Linked DNA regions of Homo sapiens: region 1 is linked to region 2. Evidence: promoter capture Hi-C in 16 types of primary human blood cells and fetal thymus (Javierre and others, 2016). All regions are on one chromosome and are shown on one strand. Each heading gives the region's core, a stretch centred on a gene start or on the middle of the fragment in contact. The rest is flanking DNA. Distances are from core to core; before and after follow the strand shown.

Region 1 (5,518 bases), core at 988-3,487, 580 kb after region 2:
CTCTGAAAATGTAGCTGTCCAACAGTTGGGGAATGGTTAAATCAATTTTAATACCTTTACTTTCTAGAATTTTGTACATATATTGAAACTTGTGACATATACATTTTTAAAAATGCAGATTGAAAATTGAAGTACTGATACATGTTACAACATGGATGAACTTTGAAACCATGCTAAGTGAAAGGTGGTCGGCACAAACAACCATATATTGTATGGTTACATTTATATGAAATAATTAGAATAGGCAAATCTATGAATACATAAAGTGATGAATGATTGCCTGGGACTAGGTGTGTGGGGTGGGGTGCAGGAATGAGGAGTGACTGCTAGTGGGTACATGGTTTCTTTTTGAGGCGATAAAAATGTTCTAACTTATATTGGGATGGTGCTCGCATGACTCTCTGAATATACTAAAAACCATTGAACTGTACACTTTCAATGGGCAGATTATATCTCAAAAAAGTCACATCTCAATAACAAAGCTTTTTAAAAATACAAGTTGAGTATATACTGTAATTAAAACTAAGCTACATAAATACATGAGAGACAGACTAGAAGTGAATATAATGAAATGCTAACAATGGTTTGGTTCAGAAAGTGGATTTGTGGGTGAAAATTTTTGCCTTCTCTTACTGTCCCAAATGTTTATAATATGATTAGATTTCTTTGATTATTAAAAAATAGATACAATTAGCAAACAGGAGAATCCTCTCCTTTGCATTTCTCTCTCCCCTCCACCAAAATCCAATCTTCTTATAACTTTCCAGAATCAAGAGTCAGAATTAGCACCGTCCAGCAGCCCTCAAAATCCCTTCTAGCCATTTCAGGCCATTCGATACAATTCTCTGAATGGAAAAGACAACTATATTAATAGATTTAATACCTTTCAAGAATATACAGATGAAAAATTCTGGCATACTGAATATACATGTGTTCTCATTTTTAGGAAGTGATAGAAGCAATTGCGGAGTGTGCATTTAAGACTTCACCTTTTCCAATTCTCCTTTCGTTTGAGAACCATGTGGATTCGTAAGTATTCAACACATTCAGGAATGAGTCTTTTTCCCGAATAGGGCATACTGAGTAATTGTTTATCAGATTTAAGATTATTTGACATGATTAATGGTGTTCTTCAATCATGTTGTATATTAACTGGCATGTTTTCATTTGTAGGTGATGGAATTCACTTAAAATAATCAACATTAAAATTATCCGTTGGACTTGTAGGATCTATTTTCATACCATAGTATGGTTTTTAAATTAAAAACTCTTCTTTTTGCAATGCAGTGGAACACATTTTTCTACACAATACATGTCTCTGTTATAGATTTGGGGTGCTGTGGGCCACTTTTATAACCCTTCTTCATTAGCTCCTTCTATTGCACACAATTTGAGTCCACTTCATCACTTTGTGGCAGGTGGGGGGAGAGCTGTGAATTCCATTTTACCAATTTGCACTTACACAGAACTCAGTTCAGCAAATCTCCATATTCCCCCTTTTCACTGGCTTTCCCCTGTTTGTTAATATTTGTATTTGCCAATTTCAAAATAGCCTGCATGTATTGCTGAGCTACACAAAGAAAAGGTTATTTTGACTTCACTGTTTTATATTCATTTTATCACACATTACCAAAGAGAGACACATTTATATCTAATAGATGTATATTAGTTTATCATGTAGTTACTTTAAAGAGCTTCAGAATGAAAGATTCTTATCCATATTGAATGAAAGCCTCTCTTTCATTTCAGGAACCTAAGCCAGATTTTTCAACTAAAAGCCAGCAGCACCTGTCCTAATTTGGATTACGAGTTTCTTTTTACCCTCCTTCCTATTGGGAGTCTTTCCCAGGTCACTGAGCCTCTTTGTCCAAGTAATTTGTAACATGTGCTTCAATTCTCTAATTCTTAAAGAGTTCACTAGATCTTAAAGATGCAGATTGGTCATGGGCAAATTTCAACTTGAAGAATTTCTAAGTAGTTAAATGTGACAATTTTATAATTATCTGTATTTTTTCAGTTTGCCCGCCAGAAATCCATATTATATTTACCGGCTTGTGGTTCTGCTTCATTATGCAACAATCATCCAATGAATGATGTAATCCTTTGGCACATAGTTTCTCCAACGCTTCTGAGGGTCAAAGGAAGAGAAAGGAATTTATTCTGTTCCATGCTATTTCTGTTCTTACTCAAAGGGGCATCTCTAGAAGCAGTATTTAATACCTAGTTTGCTTTGCAACTAGGTTCTGCTTTGCAATTGACTCTGTTAAACAATTTCTCATCTCTGTCAATTCATTTATAATTGGCCTGTAACAATACGTATGAGTCCATTCTTGTACTGCTATAAAGAAATGCCTGGGTAAGAGACTGGGTAATTTATGAAGAAAAGAGGTTTAATTGGCTCACAGTTCCACAGGCTGTACAGGAAGCATGGTGGCATCTGCTCCTGGGGAGTCCTCAGAGAGCTTTTTACTCACGGGAAGACAGAGTGGGAGCAGGTGTCTTACATGGCAGGAGGAGAACTAAGAGAGAGTGGGGAGGTGTCACACACTTTTAAACAACCAGATCTCATGAGAACTCACTATCGCAACAACAGTACCAAGGGGAATGGTGTTACACCATAAGAAATCTCCCCCATGATCCAATCACCTCCCACCAGGCCCCACTTCCAACATCGGGGGTTACAATTTGACATGAGATTTGGGCAGGGATGCAGATTCAAACCATATCACAATACTTGAGCACTTTTCTTTCAGGTATTATAGTTTCGACTTGAGGATGCTTTTTTTTTTTTTTTTTTTTTTTTTTTCTGAAGCGGAGTTTCACTCTTGTTGCCCAGGCTGGAGTGCCATGGCACAATCCTGGTTCACTGCAACCTCCATCTCCCGAGTTCAAGCAATTCTCCTGCCTCAGCCTTCCGAGTAGCTGGGATTACAGGCATGCACCACCATGCTCAGCTAATTTTGTATTTTTAGTAGACACGGGGATTCTCCATGTTGGTCAGGCTAGTCTCGAACTCCCGACCTCAGGTGATCCGCCCACCTCGGCCTCCCAAAGTGCTGGGATTGGCATACTTATGTTCTTAAAGAGAAGTTTCTATTTAAATTAGACAAAATGAAAGGCTATGGTTCCATTCTATATTGTCACACCTGCTACACTGAGCTTCCCCTTGGCATAGCCAGAAAAATATCAACCGCCACCACCACCACCAACATAATAGCTAACCTTTATTAATAGCGAACATTTATTAAACATTTTTTGTGCCAAGCAGTTTTTGAAATATTTTACATGCCTCAGCTCATGTAAGCCTTACCACAAACCCAGGTGCTTCTAAGAGTAAATATTATGATTATCGCCATTTTACAGATGATGGAACTGAGTCCTAAAGAGGATGAATAACTTGCTCAAGGCCATGTAACTAAAACATGACAGAGATGGGATTCCAATCCAGTTAGTGTGGCTTCAAAATGCACACTTTTAACCAACACATCTCCTACGCCTAAACAGAAGCATCAGGAGCCTTCAAAACATCAAATTCAGACAACGAGAGCATCCACCAGGCAATGGCCAGCAAATGTTTGCCTCTGTGGCTTGTAACCCTTAAACACAAGATGTGTTTTGCAGTTCTTCACACTAGTCATTTAGAGATCAAAAACTGGACATGAAAACTAATTTCTGCACTGTGCCTAAAGGCAAAGAGACTAGTGCCATTGTACTGCCCTTATGGGCTTAAAAATGATAAATTTAGCTATTAAAAGTTCATTAATAATTTCTATGTGACAAAAGAAAACAGGAAAACAGCCTTTCCAGGATGCCATGATTGTGTCCCAAGCCACTGAGATAATGTAATGGCAGTGAAATACTAAAAGATAAAATTCTATTGTGGAGGAAGTGGGTGGGAGTTGCTTGCTTCATATTTCCCTTGTCCTTCAGATATCAAAATTGTTCAGCCACCATTCTTTCCTGGGAGGCTAGCACACACCCAAAGAAAACCGATAAGCTTTCCCTTCGCTGGTAAAACCCCGTGCTTGACTTGTGAGCCACTTCATCTAGTTCCTGAGCCCATGGTAGGCAGTAGCAGCACTCTTTCCCACTAACCCTAGAAATAACCTCAGAATCCTTCTCAACACAGTGACCTCAGACTAGACCAGCAAGACATCTGACACCTATTTGCCATCTCTGATGAACTATTTTATTTCCCTGTGTGCTGCATGTATGGAATTTCAGATTCAGAACTCTGGTCCCAGCTCACTTGGGCCACACGTCCAAAACAAATTTATACTAGAAAAAAGGAGAAAAGGACAGGGCACGGTGGCTCACGCCTGTAATCCCAGCACTTTGGGAGGCCGAGACTGGTGGATCATGAGGTCAGGAGATCGAGACCATCCTGGCCAACATTGTGAAATCCAGTCTCTACTACAAATACAAAACAGGTGTTATGGCGGGTGCCTACAGTCCCAGTTACTCAGGAGGCTGAGGCAGGAGAATCGCTTGAACCTGGGAGGCAGAGGCTGCAGTGAGCTGAGATCACGCCACTGCACTCCAGCCTGGGTGACAGAGTGAGACTTTGTCTCAAAAAAACTAAATTAATTAAAAAAGAAAGAAAAAATGAGAAAAGCCACTGAAACTTCTGGTTTTCTCTCCCAATATCTGAAGTCACCTATCCATAGACAATAAAAGGGAATCTGCTATTAGCTGCTTTCAATGTATCCTGTTGCTACATCAGAATCCCATGAAGTGTCTTCAAAATGCAGATTCCTGAGCTACACCCTTACCCTGACTGAGAATTTCTAGAAATAAGACTTGAAAATATATTTTTAAAAGCCCTACTTGACTCTGACATCCTACTTGTGAACTAACACTTTTATAAAAAGAATTCTACACCAAATTCAATGGAAGTAATCTTTACCCATGTTCAGCCACAGAAAGCTGTGAAATTTTGAACAAGGTTCTTAATTTCCATGGATTGCAGATTCCTCCTTTATAGGGAAAGAGGTTGGTTTAGTTCAAACTGGAGGATTTGCTCCCAAGAAATCAAGTGAGTTCCTCGGTCAGAAAAACTGACCTCTGCCCCAGACGCTCACACCTTGGGAGTATTTTATTATGCTCAGAAATGTCTGCTATGACCTGAAGCTCAAAATGCATTTGTGATTTTTTTTCCCTCTCACTTTGTCCCCATGGTAGCTGATATTGATGCTCTAAACACTTCAGGATTTTGTTTTTTGCTAATTGCAATTTTAATGCCTTTTATTTCTGCAGTTCTGACCTGCAATTAAAGTTGGTTTGTTTTCCTCTGACTTTTTCAATTCAATTTGCTCTCTGCTCTGATTTAGTTCCATCAGGTGGGTGTGCATGTTTATTGAGAACATGAATAGCCTGATTACCAAATAGCTCATTTTACTTTTTGCTAGGACACCTACCTCTTGTTCTGTCCATCTCAGTTGATTCTGAGGCAGGTTTTGTTTTTGTTTTTGTTTGTTTGTTTGGTTTGAGGGTCTCACTCTGTCACCCAGGCAGGAGT
Region 2 (5,003 bases), core at 562-3,061:
TCCATGGTGATTACAATAGTGGCTAGTATACAGCTGGCTACCAATAAGTATATTTTAAATGCATTGAAATATTTAATAGCAAATTTCTGTATTGGATTTTGGTAATCTTTTGACTGAGTTCATAAGCATTGGGCCTTGGAGTCCTGAGGGCAGAGAACAGGGAGAATGAAGGATTAAGAGAATGTAGTGTTTCTCTCCATTTTTCTCTCTTCGTATTCTTTCTTCTTTTTAAAAATCAACCTTTTTGAGATATAATTTATTTAAAACAAACTGCACTCAATTTAGGCGTACTTACAGAACTTACAAGTTTTGATAAACACACACACGATATAGAACATTTCCGACATGCTCATCAGGTGCTCGTAGCCCTTCCCTGTCCATCTCTACCTATCCCTGGCCACAGGCAAGCTTTCTGTCAACATAGAATATCTTGCCTATTCTGCAATTCCTACACATGGAATCAGGCAGCATACAGTCTATCGTGTCCGGCTTCTTTTACAAAGCTTAAAGTCGCGATTCATCCCTGATCTTGCATGCCCACTCATTTTTATTGTGGAATAGTATTCCAATATTTGGGCATACCACAGTTTGTTTATCCATTCACCTGTTGATTGACATTTGCAGGCTACTAAGAAGAAAGTTCTTCACATCACTTTACAAGTCCCTGCAGACTTGAACGTTTTCATTTCTTTTGGACAAATACTTAGGAGTGGAATTTCTAGGTTGTATGATAAGTAAATATCTTACTTTATAAGAAACTATTCTCCAAAGTGGTTTTACTATTTTATATTCCCTCCAGCAATGAACAAGAGTTCCAAGCTATTTCTCTCTCCGCCCCCCCACCTCCCGCGTGTGTCTCTCTCTCTCTCTCTTTCTCTCTCTCACACTCACTCACTCTCTCTCTCCCTCTCCTCTCTCTCCTTAATAAAAAAAAAAAAAGAGTTCCAGTTGCTCCACATCCTTTCAAGCATTTGGTATTACCAGTCTTTAAAATTTTATCCATTCTGGTCCTCCTCTTTCCCTTCTTCCCTCCCTCCCTCCCTTTCTTTCTTGAATTGAGAAATGTTTGTGGAAGGAGTGAAGACAAACATTCCTGGACCTATGTTCCTAAATGAGCAAGTTTCTATTAATAAGACTCTCCCCCACCCGCCACACATCCTACACACTCAAGGAGAGGAGCGGGAGAGGGCACCCTCTTTCTTCCTCGGAAAATAAAACCTTTGCTTTCTTTAGGATGGGCTTTCTGTCTCGAAAGCACAACGTAACCGTTTGCCCGGGTTTCAAGATCAGCGCGCTGCAAACTCTCAGGCGCGGCCAGGTTTCCTCAAAGAGCCTCTCAACTGCGCTCTTCTCTGCTGATAAATGATAATTCTCTTCAAAAAGCTGGTTTGTGGCTGGCGCTGGAGAGCTCCAGCTAGAGCCAAAAGCCAGGGGTTGCCTCTTTGGTTCCTCCCGATGGGCCCCTTTTCCCAGCCAGTTGGGATCCAAAGACGCTCCGGAGCTCGAGCCCAAATTCCCAAGAAAACCCCAAAGAGCGTAAGGCTCCTGGGGACCCCTAGCACCTCTGCAACCAGGGCACGGGGCATGCTCAGAGCGAATGCGGGAGGCAGGCGTTGGCTGCAATGGGGCTCGGGAGCCAGGAGGTGCCGCTGCGTCCCCGCTTCCTGGCGCCTGACCCAGCGTGCAAAGTTGGGCTGGGAGCCGCGGGGGGAAGGAAGGACCCAGCGAGCGAGGGTGGCGGGGAAGGGGGGCGGGGGGGAGGAGGAGGGAGGAGGGAAAAGAGCGGTTAGGGGGGGCGCCGGGCGTGTGTCACTCGCTCTCTCCCTCTGTGTATAGAGGATGTGCTGAATGGTGCGCTTTGAGGCGGCGGCGGCGGAGGAGCAGAATCCGCCGCGACTGGCAGCCTCGGCTGACCGGCTCGGCTTCTCTTCGCCTTCCGAGGCTCCTCATCCACCGCGGGCTCCAGACCTCGCGTCCCGCCCGGGGCATGGCCGGGCGCTGCGCCCCCGCGCGCTCTGCCTGCTGAGCGGCGCCGGAGGGAGGTGCGGAGGCCGGGAGGCCGGGGAGGCCGGCGGGGAGCAGAGTCGAGCGCCTCCGGAGCAGAGAAAGGAGCCCGCGCCCCGCGCCCCGCGCCCCGCGCACGGTCCCCAGTCCCTGCCGCGCTCGCCCGGGCCGCCCGGAGCCCAGATGAGCCCAGATGGCCGGGGCTCAACCCGGAGTGCACGCCTTGCAACTCAAGCCCGTGTGCGTGTCCGACAGCCTCAAGAAGGGCACCAAATTCGTCAAGTGGGATGATGTAAGTATTGGGGCGGCCCGAGTCGGGGCGCTGGCTCGGGCACCGGGCAGGGCGGGCGTCGTGGGGGTGGGGCAAGGGGCGCGTTATGCAATGGGCGCACTGGGAGCGGGCAGGGGCAGCCTCGGGCGCACAGGTTGGCATCTGCCAAAGCGGATGTCCAAGGGCAGAAGCTTTGCGCGCGCTCCTGTTTCATCGGGCTTCAGTAGTTGCCATCCTTTCTGGGTCTGGCAGGCGCCCCCTGAGGGTCTTACATCTTTTGGGCCAGTGGAGAGGGAGGGGCAAGCTTTGCCTGGTGACAGGTCCTGAGAGTTCGGAAAGTAGGGAGTGTGAAGTTGGGACCAACTGGAAAGCGCCTGGTGTGAACAAATCGCGTCCCTCTCCGCCTGCGGACGCACCCCCTATTACCTCTTTTGCCCGATTTCAAGAAGGAAGGACCTGAAGTTCAAAACACTTTAGTGATTGCGAACCCTCTTGGCGCTTTTGTGGGAGCCAAGGCGGCGGAGGACACAACGGTCCAGCCAACAGGTGGTCGTTGATGCCAAACTTCAGCGCCTGGCTCCGGAGTGAGGGTCCCTGAAAAGGGCTGCGGGGACACATCTGGGGAGGGCGTGAACAGAATGGGGGCCCTTGAGGGGTCCTGGAGGGCTCATGGGCCTGCAGGCAAGTGGGGAGGGCTGACTTTTGAGAACTGAGCTGATTGGAGTCTTCTGCCTGAAATAGACAGGTTGAGAGTTTGCCCCACGATTTACCTGCACCGTTTGCCAGGTAGGGCAGAGCCTAGCCCAGCGCCGGGGTCTCTAATGCTTTACGAGCGGCCCAGACCCCAGGACTTCAAATGACTTCCCCTTCCCCTCTACCCCAGTTGTCTTCAAAACACGTAAATTAGTTATCCAGCTGAAAACATGCGAATCTTCGGATGGAGAACATTATGGTATCAGTTTTATGTCCTGGGTGTCATTCTAAAGGTTCGATAAGAAAAACCTACTGAAATAAACCCGAGTTGCCAGGCTCTAAGCAAATTTAAGTCCAAATGACTAATACATCTCTTAATCAGAAGGAATTATAGGAGAATGAGGCGTTCTTCTTGCCGAAAAGATTTTCCACCTAGTAAATTATAGCCTGTTATCCTCTAGGGTATTTTTCTTTAATCTTCTTAAGCCATTTTCCAGTGTCTGAAAACAATTTAAATATTCCAGGTAGTGAATCCAATTACTTAGCTGAGTGCGTCTGTGTCTATATTTTGTCCAGCTGGAAGCGCAAACGGAACTTGGAGTATGAACCACAGCTTCCTTGAAAGCTCGTGCCAATTATTAAATGCTGTAGGCAAGGATGTAAACATACATCTTTTTACCATGGGCTTCACACTTTTCTTCTTTCTGTTCCAGTCTAATTGTACTGAATGTTTCTGTAAATGGAATAGAATCTAAACAATAAATTCAGACGCAGATTAAATGCTTTGTGTCAGGGAAAAAAAAGACAAAGAAAATGCAGTTCAGCAATAAACAAGACGGTCTTGCCCATTTTGAGATCCTTGAATAGAGAGGTGATGTGATGATGGATTTACTGAGAAAGAGAGTGAAGGGCAGAGGAAAGAGAAAGAGACTTTGCAGAATTTAGAAAAGGGAGTTTCAGCGTAAGCTCTGGATTTGTATACAGTGATGATTCTAAACTGTATTTTAAATAATTCTCTATAATTTCTTGTTTGGGAGAGAATAGCCAACATCACATTGAGAATGAAAGTATTCTATGAAAACACATTTTGGTATATCCAGGTAGATGACTTTCATTATGTGCATTTCTGTAACACATATTTCTTGCTCACCTATTACTGCCAATCCTAGACTGGATTCTGGGGTGGTGAAAAAAGTAGACAAAATCCCTGCTGTTACGGACCTTACATGCTAGGTGGAGGAGACAAAAATCATCAAAAACACCAATGAGAGAGAGATTGGGTGATGCATTGAGGGTAATAGAGAGGACGTTAGTGAAATACCAACCAAAGAAGAAGTTGAAAAGAGCTCCTTCTGAGCATTGCAGCAGTGAGTTTCCAAGGAAGCCCTCCTGAAAGAAAGGACATAGTCACTAAGGAGAAGACCAGAAGAATTTCAGGTCTTTTTTAAAAAAAAAAAAAAAACCTAGACTGCACTCAGGAGTCAAGTTATCTGGAATATAATGAGCTATCTTGCAGGCTCTTTGGTTCTCTGGGTCTTCATGCTGATCAGTGGACTACAAGGGACCCAGCCTTTCTTAAGGTTGCCTTTCTCTTCCCCAGGCATCCCTTTTCTACTCTTCTCAGCTCGTATTTGCCCTTCCAGAATCAAGCCAGTTCAAGTTATCTGGCTATTTATATTGTACCTTAGTGAGACAGTGTGTTGAAGACAAAAAAGAACCAGATCTTGAATCAAAGGCCTGAGTTTACCTCCTAGTTCTTTCACCAGTAAGCTGCATGACTTTAGGCAAATCACTTAGCTTCTCTGTATTTTTGCTGCTTCTTGTGTAAAAGCGTGGTAATGTTACAGGACATTCAAAAATGATGAATTTGGGGCTGTTTAGGATGTGAAGAAATTATCTCTTGTTCCTGAAGTGATTAAAGCAGTATAATCACTGGTCTTGTTGTCTTGACCACCATATGGAATGGAAGATGTCACCCAGAGGTTGCAGTGCCATGCATAATTTGCTGGCCACCTACCAAGTCACAGTGAGGCTG

The links. Contacts are between HindIII fragments. The CHiCAGO score rates a contact against its expected background, and 5 or more counts as called.
Region 1: a fragment that was not itself captured here is called in contact with the fragment with the promoter of PLCB1 in region 2 in 1 of 17 cell types (megakaryocytes); the score reaches 6.0 in megakaryocytes.

The regions. Positions count from the first base shown.
Region 1 is chr20:8,707,724-8,713,241 of GRCh38, forward strand. It overlaps PLCB1 (phospholipase C beta 1), which reads left to right. Exons shown (of 32, transcript NM_015192.4): 12 at 947-1,029. Among named protein-coding and RNA genes, the nearest start is that of RNU105B, 120 kb to the right of the region's middle. The HindIII fragment of the contact is 3,515 bases long and covers 481-3,995 here.
Region 2 is chr20:8,130,455-8,135,457 of GRCh38, forward strand. It overlaps PLCB1 (phospholipase C beta 1), which reads left to right and starts at 1,812. Exons shown (of 32, transcript NM_015192.4): 1 at 1,812-2,296. The coding sequence starts at 2,198. RefSeq lists a silencer at 1,898-2,037. The HindIII fragment of the contact is 1,963 bases long and covers 502-2,464 here.